2 separate regions of the Homo sapiens genome follow, and region 2 is linked to region 1. The links are contacts of gene promoters, found by promoter capture Hi-C in blood cells and fetal thymus (Javierre and others, 2016). All regions are on one chromosome and are shown on one strand. Each heading gives the region's core, a stretch centred on a gene start or on the middle of the fragment in contact. The rest is flanking DNA. Distances are from core to core; before and after follow the strand shown. Region 1 holds the start of UBE2G2 (ubiquitin conjugating enzyme E2 G2). Region 2 holds the start of KRTAP10-7 (keratin associated protein 10-7).

Evidence for each region. Contacts are between HindIII fragments. The CHiCAGO score rates a contact against its expected background, and 5 or more counts as called.
Region 2: the fragment with the promoter of KRTAP10-7 here is called in contact with the fragment with the promoter of UBE2G2 in region 1 in 2 of 17 cell types (total CD4 T cells and neutrophils); the score reaches 5.9 in total CD4 T cells.

Annotation. Positions count from the first base shown.
Region 1 is chr21:44,797,383-44,803,425 of GRCh38, forward strand. It overlaps UBE2G2 (ubiquitin conjugating enzyme E2 G2), which reads right to left and starts at 4,438. Exons shown (of 6, transcript NM_003343.6): 1 at 4,324-4,438. The coding sequence starts at 4,366. It overlaps LINC01424 (long intergenic non-protein coding RNA 1424), which reads left to right and starts at 4,859. Exons shown (of 2, transcript NR_109928.1): 1 at 4,859-5,254. RefSeq lists an enhancer at 3,664-4,619 and silencers at 4,167-4,226, 4,287-4,506, 5,007-5,056. The HindIII fragment of the contact is 6,659 bases long and covers 1-6,043 here.
Region 2 is chr21:44,596,425-44,602,314 of GRCh38, forward strand. It overlaps KRTAP10-7 (keratin associated protein 10-7), which reads left to right and starts at 4,173. Exons shown (of 1, transcript NM_198689.3): 1 at 4,173-5,750. The coding sequence starts at 4,198. The coding sequence ends at 5,310. The region is part of intron 1 of TSPEAR (thrombospondin type laminin G domain and EAR repeats); the gene reads right to left. RefSeq lists enhancers at 2,540-3,296, 4,057-4,806, 4,807-5,566, 5,665-5,890. The HindIII fragment of the contact is 9,535 bases long and covers 975-5,890 here.

The DNA.
Region 1 (6,043 bases), core at 3,188-5,687:
CTTAATTTCCTATGCAGGGGTTTAATGATTTTCTTCTCAATAAAAATGAGAAGGCCGGGCGTGGTGGCTCACGCCTGTAATCCCAGCACTTTGGGAGGCCGAGGCTGGCGGATCACGAGGTCAGGAGATCGAGACCATCCTGGCTAACACGGTGAAACCCCGTCTCTACTAACAATACAAAAATTAGCCGGGCATGGTGGCGCGCGCCTGTAGTCCCAGCTACACGGGAGGCTGAGGCAGGAGAATGGCATGAACCCGGGAGGCGGAGCCTGCAGTGAGTCAAGATTGCGCCACTGCACTCCAGCCTGGGCGACAGAGCAAAACTCCGTCTCAAAAAAAAAAAAAAAAAAAAAAAAAAAGAGAAAATACCTGCTCACAGTCTAGCCTAACCCTAGAAATAGGGCTAAAATAAAACTAAAACAGAGACACAAACACAAACCAGGATACCAAGAAATGGTAGGTGTTCACACATCTGACCCACCAGCCAGGTTTCCCATGAGGACACAGAAGTAATAGTCCCCCACATCCAACCCTCTGTTCGAGTATGAACATTGTCAGAATCAAAATGGAGTCACTTTCGCCAAACCCTGACAACATAGAGGGAGGTCAAGATGAAGACAGAAAAATCAGCCAGGTGTAGGGGCACATGCCTGTAGTCTCAGCTACTCAGGTGGATTAAGTGAAAGGATAGCTTGAGCCCAGGTCAAGGCTTGCAATGAGCTGTGGTTGTGCCACTGCACTCCAACCTGGGTGACAGAGCAAGACCCTGTCTCAAAAAATAAATAAATAAATAATTATTATTTGCCAAAATATGCTTAATTTTTATTGCTAAAAAATGCTAACAATCATATGAGCCTTCAGCAGGTCATAATCTTTTTGCCGGTGCAGTCTTGCCCGGATATTGATGACTGCTGACTGATCAGGGTGGTAGTTGCTGAAGGCAGGAGTGGCTGTGGTAGTTTCTGAAAATAAGACAACAATTAAGTTTGCCACAGGGACTGACTCTTACTTTCACAAAAGATTGCTCTGTAGTCTGTGATGTTGTTTGACAGCACTTTACCCACAGTGGAACTTCAGTCAAAACTGGAGTCAATACCCTCAAACCCTGCGGCTGCTTTATCAACTAAATTTATGGAATAGTCTCAATCTTTTGTCATTTCAACAATGTTCACAGCATTTTCACCAGGAGTAGATTCCATCTCAAGAATCACTTCTTTGCTCATCTGTAAGACTCAACTCCCCATCTGTTCAAGTTTGATCATGAGATTGTAGCAACTGAGTGACATCTTCAGGCTCCACCTCTAATTCCAGTTCCCTTGCCATTTCTACCACACCTGCAGTTGCTTCCTCCCCTTAAAGTCATCCATGAGCATTGAAATCAACTTTTTCAAACGCCTGTTGTTGATATGGTGACCTCCCATGAATCACAGATGTTCTTAATGCCATCTAGAATGATAAATCCTTTCCAGAAGACTTTTGATTTTCTTTGCCCAGATCCATCAAAGAAATCACTTTTCATGGCAGCTATGGCCTTATGAAATGTATTTCTTAAATAAGTCAAAAGTGCTCCCGGATCCATGGGCTGCAGAATTGGTGTTGTGTTAGCAGGCACAAAAACATTTATCTCCTTATACCTCTCCATCAGAGCTCTTGAGTGACCAGGTGCACTGTCAGGAATAGTATTTTGAAGATAATCTTTTTTTCTGAGCAGTAGGTCTCAACAGTGGGCTTATATTCAGTAAACCATGCTGTACACAGATGTGCTGTCATCCAGGTTGTTTTTCCATCTCTAGAGCTCAGAGTAGATTTAGCATAATTTTTAAGGGCCCTAAGATTTTCTGAATGATAAATGAGAACTGGCTTCAACTCAGTCAACTTAAAGTGACCGACATTAGCCCCTAACAAGAGTCGCCCTGTCCTTTGAAGCCAGTCATTGACTTCTCTCTAGCTGTTTACGTTGTATATGGCATCATCTCCTCCCAATACCGTATAAGGCTATTTTACGTACCTTGTAAATCTATTGCTTAATTTAGGAGCCACTTTCATCTTGATCTTAGCTAGATCTTCTGGAGACCTTGCTGCTTCACCTTGTGCTTTTCTGTTATGGAGACAGGTTATTTACTTCAATCTCATGAACCAACCTCTGTTAGCTCCCAATTTTTCTTCTGCAGCTTCCTCACTGCTCTCAGCCTTCATAAAACTGAAGAGTTAGGACCTTGCTCTGGATTAGGCTTTGGCTTAAAGGAATGTTATGGCTGGTTTGATCTTCTATCCAAACCACTAAAACTTTCTCCATATCAGCAGTAAGGCTTTTTCACTTTATCATTCATTGTGTTCAACAGAGCAGCACTTCTAATTTCCTTTAAGAACTTTTCCTTTGCATTCACAACTTGGCTAACAAGAGACCCAGCTTTCAGCCTATCTTGACTTTCAACATTCCTTCCTCACTAAACTTAATCATTTCTAGCTTTTGATTTGAAGTGGGTAGAGTGCAACTCTTCACTTCAACACTTGAGCCCACTGTACAGTTACTATTGGCCTAATTTCAATGTTGTTTTGTCTCAGGGAAGAGAGAGGCCGGGAGAGAGATGGGGAAACAGCCAGTCAGTGAAGCACACACAACATTTATTAGGACTACCATCTTTTATGGGCATAGTTTGTGATGCCCCAAAATAATTACAATAGTAACATCAAAGATTACTGATCATAGATCACAGTAATAGATTAAAATGTAAGAGAGAGACACGAAGCGAGCAAAAATGGTGCCAACAGACTTGCTTCCATGCAGGGTTGCTTGTAAAAAACTTGTAAACTTGTAAAAAATGCAAGATCTGCGAAGTGAAGCTCAATAAAGCAAAGCGCGCGGGAAACTGAGGTGTGCCTTTATGTTCTGCTTTAGCAGACACTAGGTGGCGAGCGTTATTTGAACGTTTACAGGAGGCCCTGTGTATCTGCGGCTGCATATCCATGGATTCGACCAACCAGGAATACAAAATATTTGAAAAAAATAACAATAAAAAATGACGATTTAAAAATACAAGTAAAAAAAATCAGTGTAACTATTTGTGCAGCACTTACATTGCATTAGGTACTATAAGTAACCTTGAGATGATTTAAAAGTTATGAGAGGCTATGCATACATTAAATGCAAATACCACGCCACCTTATAGTAGGGACTTGAGCATCCGAGGATTCTGGTATCTGCAGCGGGGCCTGGAACCAATCCCCTCCAGATACCAAGGGAAGAATGACCATACGTGAGTGAGCCTGTATTTGCAACGTTTTGGTCTGCTTAAGCCAAACATCAACTCTTACTGGGCGGTGTCACCAATAGTTTTACGAAATCAAGCTACATGTATATTCACCACTTATTTTTTTTCTCACATTCATTCTTTTAGCTTAACTTTCTTCCAAAATTATCCTCAATCTAATTACAAAAGCAGCAGCTAACTTTATTAAGGGTTACACATCAGGTATTTTGCTAAGCACTTCACCTGCAGTATCAAGTTTAACCTTTTAAGACAAGGAAACTGCAGAGACAGAGAGAGGAACAAGGTCAAAGAGCTAACAAGCAGAGAGGCCGGGTCTGAACTCAGGCCCTGCTCTTAGCCGGCTACTATCTCGTCTCCATCGGCGACTCAGGCTCCTGGCGCTTTCAACACAATGGTATTCCAAGACTTCTCGCAGCAGTTCTTCCAAGCGGGCATTCGGTGTAAAACGATGGAATGCCGAGTGTTCCTAGGTTCTCATTTCTCCCTTCGCTCTCCTCAGACATTAGAAATATCTAATTTACCGGGTAGGAAAGCACTCAAGAGGTTTCCTCAACACTACCTAGGAGGAGTGACAGGTGGCACTGTTCAAAAACCCTTTTCCTTCATTAGAGGGAAAGCCAAAATCTGACCTTTCAAAGCTCCACCAACGAGCCTTTCCCCTTTTAACGCATACACTTTTCCCTCCTAATTCCGCAGCAGCAAGTCAGGCCTTCTTCCTCAAGCTCTCACTGCACGTTCTCAAGGCTGCCAAGAAAAGAAAAAATAGAAGAGAAAAAAACAAGCCCGCAAAGACTCAACTGTGTGTGCTCTCAACTAACACGGCGCCGGCGCTGCCTTTACTGATGCTGGGAAGGCTTCTCTTCACGACTTCACGCGTGAGAGTGGGCAGCGGGCGCAGGGCGCGGCACTCCGCGGGACCCACAGGGGGGCTCACGGTGGAGGCCCCGGGCCCGGCTCCCCCGCCAGGCTCCCTGCCCCAGCCCCGCCGGACGACGCGGGCCCGGGAGCAGGAACGCGGGACGCTGCTGACGGCCCGGGTCCCCAGACTCACGTTTGTACTCGGCCATCAGCCTCTTGAGCGCGGTCCCCGCCATGGCCCCGCAACAGCTGCGCCGAGCGACCTCGCCTCAGCCGCGCGCGTGCCTCCTGCCCCGACACCGGGGACTGCTTCCGGGCCACCGTCGCGGGCCCAGGAACTCTTCCGGGGCGTGGCGCGTGCGCGATCGCCGAGGCGCGCTGTCCGGGTGGTGGGAGCTCAACCCGCGACCGCGGCTACGATTCTCTTGGCTCCTGCCCTCGCCTTAGTCGCTCTGCGGGGTTGGTTCGGTCCCGGCACTTCCAGAGGCCTCAGGGTCCTGGTCTTGTAGAGACTTCCTGAACGGTGGCGCCTGTTCCAGTGTGTGTGCGCTAACTGCCTGTTCTGTGCCAGCCGCGCGTGGCCGAAGGGCGGGAGGACGGGGGTTGTGGAGGGGAGGATGGAGGTTGGGGAGACAGGGCGGGGACGAGATAAGAGGTCGGGGGGTGGGGAGGATGGTCGCGGGGCGGTCTGGGGCTGGAGACAAGGGGCCTGAGGTGCGGGTACGCACTGAACATTCCAACCGTCCCCAGCCGGCCGGGTTTCAGGTTTGAAAAGGTGGGAAGGTTAGCTGTCCTGGCGCTTTTCCTCCACGTGTTGTGCGGCTCCGCTGGAGTTCGGGTCCAGCACCTTCTACTCCGAGGGAGAGAGCCGCGGGGAGAGCCCTGTTCGGGCCCGCGGCTCGAACTGACCGCCGGCTCTGCCGAGCAGCCTCGACCCCAGGGCACCCCCGGGAGAGAGGGCGCGGCTCAGGTCCCTGCCCGAACCCCTGGGGTGCTGAGAGACTCCCCAGCGCCCCGCGTGGGCTCCCGGCCTCTCCACAGTTGAGGATCCTGTAAGGGGCGAGCCCTTTTTCCCATAATGGCTGTAGTGAGTGGGTGTGCTTTCCCGATTGACCCGCTGTGAGGTGAGCGATTTTAACCCACATCCTTACTGACTTCACAGCACAGTAGGTGCTTCGTGGCTGTCCGGTGCAAGGATGTATATACACACACACCTTTGCAAAAAAAGTTTGCATCTCTTGCCTGGCTGTTTGTTGCAATAATCTATCATTTGTCTTTTCCTTTCCAGCATTGCAGATGATCCCTTGAAAAGAAGTCTGATCACATTCACACTCTGCTCCGCCCATTTCACTCAGTAAAGCTGAAGTCCTGCAGTGCTTTGCTCTGCCTCCGGTCACCCCGCCATACTCCCAGACCCTCCCTCCCTCTCACTCCACTCCAGCTGCCCTGGCCTGGTTCAGAGTCCCTGACTCTTCCCTCCCCGGAAACACTTTCTGGCGGCTCTTGTCCCCGACTCTTCCCACCTGCTCTTTCAGTCTTTGCTCAAATGTTGCCTCTTCAGTGTGGCCTAGGCCGTCACCACCCGGCCTTCACCGCATACCTTTTTCTCTGCAACACCTACTCAACACACCGTACTATAGAACTTACTGGCATGCTATAAATGTATTACCCTTATCTGTTGCCTCTAACCAAAAGCGTGTTCCATGAGAGCCATGGGTCCCTGCCTACTTCTGTCTTGTTTCTGGGGCAGCCTCTGTACCTGGACATCGTATACTCTTAACACGGATTTGTCAAATCAAATGAAATTTAACAATACAAACTTCACAAGTATGCATAGTGTAGGAAAATTCCCCAAAATTCAAAATTTCAGTCTACCTCCATCTTTTCAAATGACCACAGTGCTTTATAAAATG
Region 2 (5,890 bases), core at 2,923-5,422, 200 kb before region 1:
CATGGGGCCACCCTAGAGTCTGTCTCCCGCTGTCTGGACAATGTCATGGCTGTGATACCTTTGCACATACCTTGTATCCACCCAGGAGTATCTACAGGATGCTTGCTTAGTGATTCAGGCTTAAAGGCATGAGGTTTTGAATTGTGATGTGTAGCAGCAAACTGCCTGCCAAAGCCGTGGAGCAACCTCAGCCCAGCAGCAAGTCATCTGGGTAGTCTGCCCACACCCTCGCCAACCCATGTTGGGAACATCAATGGTTTTCATTTTTTCCAATATAAAAAATGATATCATATGGCCATTAAATTTGTTTTATCTCATTTTAAATGGGGCTGAGCACGTTTTCTCATTTAAGAACCATGTATATTTCTTTCAATTGTCTCTGTATCCTTTGCTCACTTTCTGTTATGTTTCTGTTATTGATCTTAATAACTCGTGGGAGCTCTTTGGATATTAAGCAAATTAGCCCTTTCTCTGATATACAGATAGGAAATGTGTTTCCCATATTGTTGTCTTTTGACTTGGTTTATAATGTTTTCTCTCCTGCAATTTAAAAATTTTTACATAATTAGTTTTATCGGTTTTTTAAATGGCTTCGGTGTTTTACTCAAAACTTAGAATAGCCCTTTCCACTCTGAGATGATTTTTCTTTCCCTTCCTATCATTATTGACAGGTGTATTAACATCCCCCACTATGATTTTCCCTTTTCTCTATTTCTACTTTTAGCTCTGCCAGTTAAAAAAATTAAAAAACAGTTTTTTATTTTAATTTTTTAATTTTATATTTTAAGCTATGTAATTAGATACATGCAGATTTAGAATTGTTACATCTTCCTGGTAGGTTGACTCTTTTAGCTTTATACATTTCTTTCTTCATCTCTATTGCTCTAAAATCTACTTTTTCTGATATTCATAAGTCACACTAGCATTTTAGTTAGTGTTTGTGTGGTGTATTTTCTTCCATCTTGTTACTTTCAAGCTTTCTGTGCTCTTTTTCTTTTTCTTTCTTTCTTTTCTTTTTTTTTTTTTTGATGGAGTCTCACTCTTGTCGCCCAGGCTGGAGGGCAGTGGTGCGATCTCGGCTCACTGCAACTTCCACCTCCTGGGTTCAAGCGATTCTCCTGCCTCAGCCTCCCAAGTAGCTGAGATTACAGGTGCCCACCACCATGCCCGGCTAATTTTGTATTTTTAGTAGAGACAGGGCTTTACCACGTTGGCCAGGCTGGTCTCAAACTCCTGACCTCAGGTGATCTGCCTGCCCCAGCCTCCCACAGTGCTGGGATTACAGGTGCGAGCCACAGCACATGGCCTCTATGCTCTTGTATTCAGGCTCTGTATCTTGTAAGCAGCATGTAGTTAGGTTTTCTACTTTTTATTCAGACCAACAATATATTTTAATTGGAATATCTGATACTTTATTGACTGATGATTTAGTTTATATCTATCTGCCATCTGACTGTACAATTTCTATTTGTCCCAATTTTTTAACGTTTCTTTTAAAAATCACTTCCTGTCTATTTTGGATTAATCAAGTATTTTTTATTATTTATTTTCCCTCTTCTGTTCTATTCATTATTCGTGAGATAAGGCAAGGCTTCTCTTCAAACAGGCTGCTCAACCTTTTGTTCTTTAATTCCTAGTACCCCCGCCCCCTCTCTTTCTTCTCCTTTTCTTCTTTCTGACTTTACTACATGCCCAGGCATGCCGCAACATCACTAGCATTATCAGCACCAGCTCGCATTCCGTTCTGTATTTAGGAAAAGACTGGCTCTCTAGTTTCCCGTAGATGACCCCTTCCTCCTCTCCCGTCTCTCCCATTATGCATCCATTTTATCTAAGAAAGTTTAAATGTTTAGCCAATCGGGTCTAGTTTAAATTGTGCGGCGCAATCCCAGCCAATGGGGAAAGGACACAGGGGCAGGATCACGTTAGGAATAAAAACTTCTACTCTCCTTTGTTCTGTGTGCTCTCGTGGCAACCAGCCATATGGGAGACACCCTCCTGCACAGACATACATTTGCTTTGCTGAGAAATCCTTTGTCTCAGTGCTCGTTTTTCCTTACGACTCTGAGCCTTATTTCTAACATTATTGATTATACATTGATTATACATAGTTTTTACTATCTCTTCCGTGGTCACTTTAGAGATTATAGCACACATTCTTAGATTATTCAAGTGTAACATATGTCAGCACTTCCGCCGCTTCCAAAACAATGCTGAAACCTTAGAAAACTTTCACTCCATTTATCCTTCTCACCTTTTATTGTTAATGTCATCATGCATTACTTTTCTACTTCTAGTTTAGACCCCACAAGAGATTATAAATATAATAATATTACCCTTTCAGATCCTCCTGGTTCCTTCCTGCATTTTTATCCTTCCGTCATCCTGCCTAAAAAAATCCCCTTTCATAGTTACTGTAGAGTAGGTCTGCTCGTGTTCAGTTTGCTCAGTTGTTATCCAGAATTGTTTTGTTTCATATTTCACCTTTGAACAATGTTCTTCCTGGTCTAGAATTCTAGGTTTGCAGTGATTTTCTTTCAGCTCTTTAAAGATGTCATTCTATTACCTTTAGTTTCTTCAACAGCTCTTTTAGGAGAGCTTTAAAGGAATCATTTTTAAAACATTTTGTTCAGCTTTTCAAGTTGTTCTCAGCAGGAGTATATGTCTGACATAGCTACTTTGTCCCATATGGAAGCAGAGGCCCCCATTTTCTCTCTCTCTCTCTCTCTCTCTCTCTCTCTCTCTCTCCTTCCATCCCATAGGACCAGATCCTGTACCTCTGGAGGGACCAGGCCATGCTCAAATTTATATTATTTTTATAGTTCAAAATATACAGAAAGACAATTCATCCCACCGTGTAACTGAATTTCTAGCCCTCTGAGGCCTTTTGTACTTTTCCTAAATCCCCTAGGAGTTAAGAGGCCTGGACTGGGAAACACAGATAGAGACACAGGACACCCTGAGCCTCTGAGACTTGCCTGGGCATCAAACCCCACCAGAAGGGCCCCTGGAGCCCTCTCCCCTGGGTAGGGGCCACTTCTCAGGGCCGCATGCATGCTGGGCTATGGCTGGTCATCACTGACATCACCAGGCACCAAGCAGCCCACCTCCCTCCCTGGTGGGGTCCACAGTCAGGGTTACTACCCCTTCACTTTCACATTCTCAGCACCTGGTGCAATTTCCAGCATGTGGGAGGACTCACTGCATCATGAATAAATGAATGCTTGAGAAGTAAAAGTATCGGATACAATTGGAAACATTTAGCAGAAACAACCAAAAAGATGTGGTGGCCAATTGGATATTATTTGCAGAAGAAATGGAGACTTAGATCAGATGTCTAGCTGGGGTGACCAAGGACTTAGCTGGCAATCAAGAAAACACACTGCAAGCGAAAGCAGTGCTTGCTGCTTTTCACACGGCAGTGCTGTTGAGAGTGGCTGTGCTTTTTGCGGAGGAGGTGTTCTGGGTTAGACTTACAGGTTTGCAGTGCTTGGGATAAAACCAAATGGAAATGGGGGCCCCAAACAGGGATCTGGGGCCTCCCTAAGTGCCCAGATGGAAGAGGGGGTGCACGGCCCCCCAGGAACTACTGTGAACCTGACGGGAAATGGCTCACACCACTGTCCACCCTTTCCCGTTTGCCACTTGCTCTAAAGCCCTTGGGGGGACTTTATGCACCAGAGAGAGTGTGGGGAGTCACTTCTAGGAATGTTCCACCCTCATGCCATCATTGACAGGGGCTTCTCTAGCCTGGCATTCCAGAAGCCACAGCCACCCAGACAAGCAGAGTCCCCTGGCGATGGCCCACAGGCGCTGGGATTAGGATGGATGGATCTCTCCTGCAGCCAGCACAGGCCCCTGGGACACTCTATTTGCAGACATTACACCCTGTCTACTTCAATATTATGCTCTGGAGCCAAAGGTAGGTGAGGGTGCGTCAACGGAACCAAATATAGACTCAGGACTTTACAAACTGAACGGCATCTCATAGGACTAAACATGAAACTCGCACTAATAAGCGTTCTCTAGGTTTTAAACACAAACAAGGAAGGGGCAGGAGTTGTTGACACTCCAGCTGGGACAACAGACCAGGGAGACATATAAAAGCCAACATCCCTGAGCACCTAACACACGGACTCACTCACTCATTCACTCACTCACCCACTCACTCCCATCTCCTCCAGTTCAATCCCCAGCATGGCTGCGTCCACTATGTCTGTCTGCTCCAGCGACCTGAGCTACGGCAGCCGCGTCTGCCTTCCTGGTTCCTGTGACTCTTGCTCCGACTCCTGGCAGGTGGACGACTGCCCAGAGAGCTGCTGCGAGCCCCCCTGCTGCGCCCCGGCCCCCTGCCTGAGCCTGGTCTGCACCCCAGTGAGCTATGTGTCCAGCCCCTGCTGCCGAGTGACCTGTGAGCCCAGCCCCTGCCAATCAGGCTGCACCAGCTCCTGCACGCCCTCGTGCTGCCAGCAGTCTAGCTGCCAGCTGGCTTGCTGTGCCTCCTCCCCCTGCCAGCAGGCCTGCTGCGTGCCCGTCTGCTGCAAGACTGTCTGCTGCAAGCCTGTGTACTGTGTGCCTGTCTGCAGTGGGGATTCTTCATGCTGCCAGCAGTCTAGCTGCCAGTCAGCTTGCTGCACCTCCTCCCCCTGCCAGCAGGCCTGCTGTGTGCCCATCTGCTGCAAGCCTGTCTGCTCTGGGATTTCCTCTTCGTGCTGCCAGCAGTCTAGCTGTGTGAGCTGTGTGTCCAGTCCCTGCTGCCAGGCGGTCTGTGAGCCCAGCCCCTGCCAATCAGGCTGCATCAGCTCCTGCACGCCCTCGTGCTGCCAGCAGTCTAGCTGCAAGCCGGCTTGCTGCACCTCCTCCCCTTGCCAGCAGGCCTGCTGTGTGCCTGTCTGCTGCAAGCCCGTCTGCTGTGTGCCCACCTGCTCTGATGATTCCGGTTCATGCTGCCAGCCAGCTTGCTGCACCTCCTCCCAAAGCCAGCAGGGCTGCTGCGTGCCCGTCTGCTGTAAGCCTGTGTGCTGTGTGCCCGTCTGCTCTGGGGCTTCCACTTCATGCTGCCAGCAGTCTAGCTGCCAGCCGGCTTGCTGCACCACCTCCTGCTGCAGACCCTCCTCCTCCGTGTCCCTCCTCTGCCGCCCCGTGTGCAGGCCCGCCTGCTGCGTGCCCGTCCCCTCCTGCTGCGCCCCCACCTCCTCCTGCCAGGCCAGCTGCTGCCGCCCAGCCTCCTGTGTGTCTCTCCTTTGCCGCCCCGCATGCTCCCGCCCGGCCTGCTGTGGCCCCACCTCAACCCAGAAGTCCAGCTGCTGAGTGATCTCCTTAAGATCATCCAAAGCCTGAGTGCTCACTGCCACCTGCACCCCTGGATTCTTTACCCTTGACGGCTCTCCACATCCCGCTCCTAAGCCCTGCAGTGGACGTCAGTGGTCAGCTGGCCATCCAGTGTGCGCTTCTCCTCCTAGAAGCAGCTCAGCTGTTTCTCCAAGTCTTGACTTTCCCCCAATTACCCAGCCCTGCTTCCCCAGCAACAGGTGGGCAGTGACCCCAGCAAGGCCAGCGGGTGCTCCCAGGCCATAGCCCGGTGTGGGGAGAAATGAGGGTAGACAGGTACCAACTGGGTTTCTCGTCACTGTCCCAGCTCAGTGGCGAGCCCTGCTCCTCCCCTGCTGTGGGCCTGGGCCTCTTTCTCTGTCTTCCCTGACCACGGGAGCAGGTCAGACCCTTCTAATAAACTCCTTTCCTAAAAAGTACAACTGGAATTCATTCTTGTTGTTCACAACCAAAGACCCCTGCCTGATGCCCCCCACCCGCGGGTGGTCCTGGGCTGCTCCCACGCCACGAGGTCCCTGTCCTTCCCAGGCGTCCTGGCAGCCCTGCACCAGCCTCACCA